Regions from separate parts of the Homo sapiens genome. Here region 1 is linked to region 2. The links are contacts of gene promoters, found by promoter capture Hi-C in human tissues and cell types (Jung and others, 2019). All regions are on one chromosome and are shown on one strand. The core of a region is centred on a gene start or on the middle of the fragment in contact, and the rest is flanking DNA. Distances in the headings are between cores, read along the strand shown. Region 1 has its middle 49 kb from the start of ISX. Region 2 holds the start of ISX (intestine specific homeobox).

Region 1 (4,060 bases), core at 728-3,227, 49 kb after region 2:
CTCCGGAGCCCACCGTTTAGCCACTGTTATGAATGCATAATGCAGGAGGGAATCCCAGTTGTGTATTTTAGAGGAATTATTGAAAGTCCCATTGCTTCTCCATCAGGGTCGGAGCCTTCCCCCTGGTGCCACTGAGCACCAGCCATCCCTATGGTGCCGCTGAGCACACCTTGGGTGGAGACGTGCCCCCTCACTGTGTCTACAGCCTTGTCCATGTGCCCACCCATGTTCTGGCTGAAGGGACTGTGTCCCCTGTGAGCCTCATCTTTCCCAGCTCCATGGCCCCTGGTCCTTCTGTGCTTCCTCCCAAGCCAGGGTCTCTAGGCCCTCTCTATCCTTGCCTCTCTCCTGTGGGCCCATCCCAGGATTCTGTGCAAATAGTCAGGCCATTTCTATGGCCCCAGGGAGGAAAAAAGTCAGGAACCCAGGACTGAGGACAAGAACATGGACAGGAATCAAAGACGCTGTCCAGTGAGGACTTGCTAAGCCTGGACTCTTTGGGGGAATTATTTCATTTAACTCATATGGCAGCTGCTGACATCTGGAAGAAGCCCCAGGACATATCCGTTGAATGAATCAGGCAGCCCTCACTTTCCTCATTTTACAGATAGGGAAAGAGATGTCCTGAGGATCTTAGAACAGGCTCAACATCACACAGCTATGACAAATTCAGGATTCAAAGCCAGCTCCTCCTGGCTCCCTCATTTTTGCTCTTTCTTCCACCCCCATATTACAATGCTTGGTCCACATTTGGAGTCCAAAGAAATGGATCCTCACTCCAGCTGTGTCTTGGACTCCTTTGTTGACCTTGAGCCAGGCTCTCTGGAAAAGGCATCCAGAAGCTCTCCAAGGAACCTTTAGGAAGAGGAACTTCCTGGGTTTGGTGACCATGAAAGGAGGAAAGAGAGAATCCACCAGCTGGAGCTCCACGTGCACGCAGCCAGCCCTCGATGTGCAACATCTTTGACAACAGGAAGACACATGCTCTCAAGTGGCTCACTCAAGCGTCTTTAAAGAGTTCCGTAAAACTCTGCATTTCAGTGCACGACCAGTAAGTGTATAAAGCGAATGTGGTGTGCTGGGCATACAGAACAAATGGAAGAATCTCAGGCAGAGAGCCCCACGTGAGGAATCAGAGACAGGCTGGGGTCCAGATCTCTGCCCGCCTCCACCCAAGATGTGCTCAGCGGAACCACAGGGATGGCTGGTGCTCAGTGGCACCACGGGGAAGGCTCTGAGCCTGATGGAGAAGCCATGGGACTTTCAACAATTCCTCTAAAATACACAACTGGGATTCCCTCCTGTGTTATCCATTCAGCACTTACCGACAAGTACATGCCTAGGAGAGTTGCTATGAGAATTGAGGAAACACAAAGGGGATTGGAAGACGCTTCAACGGCAGAGCATTTCATGCATGGGAGGGAGAGCTGTGGGGGCCCGCGGAACATTCCCACCACCATTGCCTCTCCTCTCTGGTGTGACCCTGGGAGAGGACAGTACAAATTAGCCAGGCTGTAACCTGATGCTAGAAGCTATCTAGGTGTTCTGTGGCTTCAGGTCACTGTCTGCCACACAATGAGGCAGTGAGCAGGCAGCTGCCCCTCGGCTTCTAGAAAAGGAAGGTGGTGGCTGGGCGTGGTGGCTCACGCCTGTTAGCCAGCACTTTGGGAGGCCGAGGAGGGCGGATCACGAGGTCAGGAGATCGAGACCATCCTGGCTAACACGGTGATACCCCGTCTCTATTAAACAAAATACAAAAAATTAGCCAGGCGAGGTGGCAGGCGCCTGTAGTCCCAGTTACTTGGGAGGCTGAGGCAGGAGAATGGCATGAACCTGGGAGGCGGAGCTTGCAGTGAGCCCAGATGGCACTGCACTCCAGCCTGGGCGACAGAGCAAGACTCCGTCTCAAAAAAAGAAAAAAGAAAAGGAAGGTGGACAGTGGATTCGAGCATAGATCCCAGCCCCAGATCCCACAGCTGCTAGGGAAGTGCACAAATGTTTTCTATGAAGGGCCAGATAGTAAATACTTTAAGCTTTACGGGTCTTAGGATCCCTGTTGCAATTACTTAACTCTGCAGCTGTAGCTCAAAAGTAGCCAGAGACAACACATCAGAGAATGGCCATGGCTGTGTTCTAATAAAACTTTATTCACAAAATCAGTCAGTGGGTTGGATTTGTCCCGCAGGCCATCATTGGCCCTCAATAATCCCAAAATATTGCTGGCCTCCGATGGTGTTAAAGAGGATTTGAATACAAAGTTGCTGTGACTGGCCATTTTTCTCACCACCCCACAAAATCTGCCTTGCCATTGACACTCAATTCTATCCTTGAAAGCCTGAGAAATCCCAGTTAGAAGATGCAACAGCCCCTTCCTTCTTCAGACCAAGCTCCCAGCTGGGTGACGTTGGGAAAGTCCTCCCACCTCTCTAGGCCTCATTCTCCCCTCAGTAAATGCACTTATTGAAGGCCTCCCCTAGGACCAGGCGCAGTGACCAGGTACAGCAGGGTGTCCAGGGAACAGCCCCAGAACATTGGCAACAAAATCTGCCTTCCATGGAGGTAGAAATTGGGACTCAGAGAGGTTAAGCAACTTGCCTGAGATCACAGAGCTAAGAAGTGTTCATACAGGAACTAGAACCTAATGCTTTGGGCTCCAGAGGCCAGAGCTCCCACCTCTGCCCCTCTCAGGCTAGGATGACTCCGAAGCCCCATCGGGTCCATGTCTCTGAGTGCTGGGAAGGTGCAAAGTCCAGCAGGAGAGAGCATGAGGATGACAGAGGAAGACCAGGGAGCCGCCTCTGTTATCCACCAACTGTGTGCCAGGATATAAGCTCAGTTATGGGAGGTGTTATCCTCCCCCAGGAACAGGTGTGGAAACAGGCTCAGAGAGGTAGAGGGCCTTGCCCAAGGCCACAGAGCCAGTGGTGAGTCAGGACATGAACCCAGGCCGAGGAACCCCACATGGCCAAGCTTAGCTGACTTCCCTGGCCACACTCCGCCCCTCCGTTTATGTTCCCAGAATGAGACAGGAGCCCGGGAAAACCTCCTCCCCAGGTGGCATAGAAGTGAGAGCCCAAAAAGGCGCACCCTACCCCCAGTGCCCTCACTTGGGGACACCACTCAAGCCTACAGGTGTCCATCAGTCCAAGCTGAGAACCATCAACAATGGCCCCCTTCACTCAGACCCTGAGAAGCCCCAGGACTGGGGTGCAGCCGGGTTCAGCACCAGGAGGATTATCAGCCACCCAGGAAATGCCTGGAGGTCTTGAACTTCTGAACTCCTCGCTCACCTCCACCTGAACCCAGCAAAATGGCCTCTTTCCTGTTATTACTTTATAGCCTTGACTGTAAATTCTTCCCTGATCCCACTTTATGGCTGCAGGATAAAAACATGTGCCCCAGGCATAGCTTTCGAGGAGAGCGCCTGGTTTATAAAGTGGTGCTGTCATAGCACAGAGAAGGGGTGCAGCTCAGCCGGCCAAGGGAGTGCAGCCCGGGGCTCACTGCTGGCGCACGGGAAGGGCAGGCTGACCAGACCCTGCCAGGGCACCAAGCCAGGCACACTGCAGGGCCCTGGAAGCCAGGCAGCAGTTCCCACCCTTACCAGGGATGGCAGCGTGACTTTCTTCACTGCATCTTCGGGGTAACCCTGAGAAACAGGCCAGGTTTTATGGCTACCTTCATATTACAAGTGAGGAGGCTGACGCTGGGAGAGGTGGCGTGTACAGGGCCACACAGCCAGGACGAGAACTCAGACCCAGAGCTCCTTCACCACCTGCTCTCTCAGAATAAACCCTCAATTGTCTACAAGACAGCTCATCTCAACAGAATTGCTTCAGCCTCATTGAATCCTCAGCCGTCCTGGGAGCATGAGTATTACCCTCCCCTCTTACTACACAGGTGTTTCTGAAGCATCCTCTGCCTGCCCTCAGCACCCCACTCCTGGCGCTGCTGCCCTCATACCTGTGGACTGACAAGGAGGAGAAGCGGGGCCCCTGCAACGCTGTCCTTTCTTCTTCCCTCTCTCTTAGGAGCCAGATGCTTAGATAGAGGACCTGAA
Region 2 (3,580 bases), core at 238-2,737:
TCTCATCCAACAACCCCTTCCATGGACCAATGGTGGGCCTGACTTCTAGGGGACTCTGGCCTCTTCACTGCAAAAGTCAACAAACTGGTTCATTTGTCTCCTGGCAGGAAAACTCCCCTGTCCAGCCCTAGGAAAGGGATAGGTCTAAGCAGGGTCATGTGACTCCCTCTGGCCACAGAATGTGAGCAGAAGGTCTATCAACCACTTCCACTTCTGACTCATCAAAATTTCTCCTTTCAACAGAAAACCAAATACTGAATGTTCTCACTCATAGGTGGGAGTTGAACAATGAGAACACATGGACACAGGGAGGGGGAAAATACACACTGGGGCCAGTCAAGGGGTTGGGGGCAAGGGGAGGGAGAGCATTAGGACAAATACCTAATGCACGCAGGACTTAAACCTAGATGATGGGGTGATAGGTACAGCAAAGCACCAAGGCACATGTATACCTATGTAACAAACCTGCACATTCTGCACATGTATCCCAGAACTTAAAATTAAAAAAAAAAAATTCTCCTTTGCTGTCTCCCTTTCCCCAGAAAACTTGGAGCCTATGATTGGAGAATGGTGGCATCACTGTTTGAAAGGAATCTGGGTCCCTAAATGACTACATTAGAATGTGATGTGGGTGAGCTATTATGCTCCCAAGACTATAGGGTTTACTTGCTACTACAGCAGAGCCTATTCCCCCCCTAACTAAATCAGACAGCCTGACACTTCCAAGGGGCACAGCTCCTAAAATGGGGCATCTTTACCTGTTCCCTCTCTCAGGGTGAGTCCCTCTCTCTCCTGACTCACTCTTCTCAGGGAGTGGAGACCAACGTTCCCTATCCTTCACCTCCCACCCCTGCCCTCTATGAGAAGATCTAGATTCTAACATCCAAATTTACATTCACAGTCTCTGCCAGGGTATCCATCCCTCCTGTGCAAATTGGCTCCTTGTGGCCAGCATGGCATCATGGACATCCCCAGGGGAGTACTGTGATCAGGCCCTGCCATCACATTTTCTGTACCTCCTTGGTCTGGACCTCAGTTTCCCCATATCAGAAAGCCCTGGAATGCTTTTCCTGATCTGATATTTGCAAGCCATGGAAAGCACATCTGAGAGCAAATGAATGCCTAAGGCTGACAGCCAGCAGACTGCACCTCAGCCCAGCCTCCCCCACACATGACCACAGGCTCTCCTGGCTGAGTAAACATGTTTTATTGGGCCTGGGTACACTTCCTGGCCATTCTGCTCCCACCTTCCCTTCCCCTGCTCTGGCCAGTTCCCCAGCACAGCCCCTCCCTGGGGCCTCCAATACCTGTCCTTCAGATCCCCACTGCCTCCTGCCACTTTTCTACCCTGACACCTGCATCCCCAGCCTTAAGGGGCGTGGAGAGTTTTTCTCTTATCAGCCTGTTTTACTGCCCCCTCCTCCTTGGTTACACAGTAATTTGGAGCAAAATTCCAGGCAAGGACAGATCAACAACTGTCAGCTCCCAGTCAGAGAGAAAGGGCCTCTTCAGTCTGTCTCAGGAGACTGGGAGAAACAGCATAAAGGACCCCACAAGGAAGGGAGAGGTACCCTGGGTCAGGCGCTTGTGGAGAGAGGGCTTCGCATGTAAAGTGACGTCAGGGAAAATAGAACAGAAAAAAAGCCAGGGCCAGCCCAGAGGCACCTGAGAAGAATCAGACCCACAGCTCAGCCCAGCCCTGGCACAGAGAAGAGACAGGCCTGGCAGCACCCAGGGACCCCCTTTCCTCAGCCTCCACCTGCAGGACAGCAGGAGCACTGATGCGCTGAAGGTACGTTCTGGAGTCTGGAAGCAGCAGAACTGAAGGAAGTAAACACGGGTGTCTGGGAAGACCCCTCAAGCTGCAGTAAAGCCCAGGACTGAATTGGCCACCTGAGGCCAAGGGTGGCACTCCAACCTCCTCCTAAAGGCTGGCTAGAGCCACAGGAAAGGGCCAGAAGCCAGAGAAAGGGCAAAGGTGGACCCCTGCCTCCAAACCTCCTCTGGAGACTGACCTCCTCTTTCCTGTGCCTTATTGTTTCTCCCTCTTCTCTTTGTTCGCCACTGGGCGGTGACCTCAGGGATCCTGGCCTAACCTGGTGATTGTGCAGGCAACTGTGTCCGAGAAGACCCTTCTCTGGAAGATTGAACCCCAATTCAGCCATGGTGACTCCTTTGATGTCAAACTGGTAAGGGCTGAGCCGTGGGCACAGGATACCACTCCTTCCAGCTCTTCTGCTGTGACCTGCCCATGGAAGTCCCTGTGGACACGAAATCCTGTTTGGATCATCTAACTGGAGGCTCTCTGTTCTTCACCTCCACGCGCCCTCTTGACCCCAGGAGGTTCAGGGGAGGAAGTACGCCACTCTCCACTGGCACCCTCCTTGGCCTACACAGAGTCACCCCTGAGCCCCTCAATGTGTGCTGAGGTGGGCCCTGCTCTCTGCAGGGGTATGGAGAGAAATAGCTTGGGGTGCTGTGAGGCCCCGAAGAAGCTGAGCCTGTCCTTCTCCATTGAGGCGATCCTAAAGAGGCCTGCCAGGAGGAGTGATATGGACAGACCAGAAGGGCCAGGTGAAGAGGGCCCCGGAGAAGCTGCGGCCTCAGGCTCTGGGCTAGAAAAGCCTCCAAAGGACCAGCCCCAGGGTAAGTGTCTTCTGATCATTTCTTTCTGTTTCCTGGTCTCCAAGACCCAGCTGGGCTCAGGCAGAGAAAAAGCTTCTCCGTCCATATTAACTGGATAGAGGACTCTAAAATTCAGAGCAAGACCTGGCTCTGGGCTGGTTTCCTGATATACCTTTCAATCTAACCCAAAACTGTGCTTTTCAGCTTCAGACACCAAGGCTCAGTTAGTTGCAGAATGCAGGGACCTGGGGCTTGTTATTGTAACCAGGCCCCGGCTAAGAATGCTAGTTACCATTTATTCAGCATTGACAATGTCATAGGCATTCTCTTTTAATTTCAGTAGAAAAGCATGATTATCATAACTGGACAGATAAGAAAACTCATCTGTGAAAGAGAAGAGGAGGATAATGTCCCCAAGTTACACAGCTGGTAAACAGAAGCCCCGCTATCAGGACCTGGCTCTGACTCCCCCAAATCCCTGCTGGGCCCAGCACAGTCTCCTCCTCATAAGCCAAGTTCAGTCTGCACAACTTCCAGGGGCTGAAGCTTTGCCCAGGGGCCGAAGCTTTGGCTTGGGAAAAGTCTGTCCACCCTGATCACCTTCCCCAAGCCAGTGGCCACCCCAAGGCATGTCCCCAGATAACAGTGACCAGGTAGATCGAGAGCTGGCTTGAGGAAGGGAGGAAAGCCGCACTGGGGCATTGGTGTGGACGCACACACCTGCTAACAGTCAGGAACCCAGGATGTGAGTCTTAGCTCTACCTTGGCCTGCTATGTGACCTCAGAAAAGTCCCTGTCCACTGCAGCCTCAGGTTTATTCTCAGCAAAACACCTGGGTGAAGGAATAAGAAATGGTGAAGCTGGCGATGTCTCAAGGGCCTTGTCAGTCTGACTGTCACTGAGCCTGGAATATCTCACATGAGGTTCTCAGTTCTCTCCCCTTTTCACCCCTTTT

What was found. The method cuts DNA at HindIII sites, captures the fragments that hold promoters and counts their contacts. A contact is called where the count stands out against the background at its distance.
Region 1: a contact is called between a fragment that was not itself captured here and the fragment with the promoter of ISX in region 2, in 1 of the 25 tissues and cell types used here (H1 embryonic stem cells).

What each region holds. Positions count from the first base shown.
Region 1 is chr22:35,113,558-35,117,617 of GRCh38, forward strand. No RefSeq gene overlaps it. Among named protein-coding and RNA genes, the nearest start is that of ISX, 49 kb to the left of the region's middle. The HindIII fragment of the contact is 3,876 bases long and covers 40-3,915 here.
Region 2 is chr22:35,064,671-35,068,250 of GRCh38, forward strand. It overlaps ISX (intestine specific homeobox), which reads left to right and starts at 1,488. Exons shown (of 5, transcript NM_001303508.2): 1 at 1,488-1,792; 2 at 2,082-2,646. The coding sequence starts at 2,418. The HindIII fragment of the contact is 5,369 bases long and covers 1-2,944 here.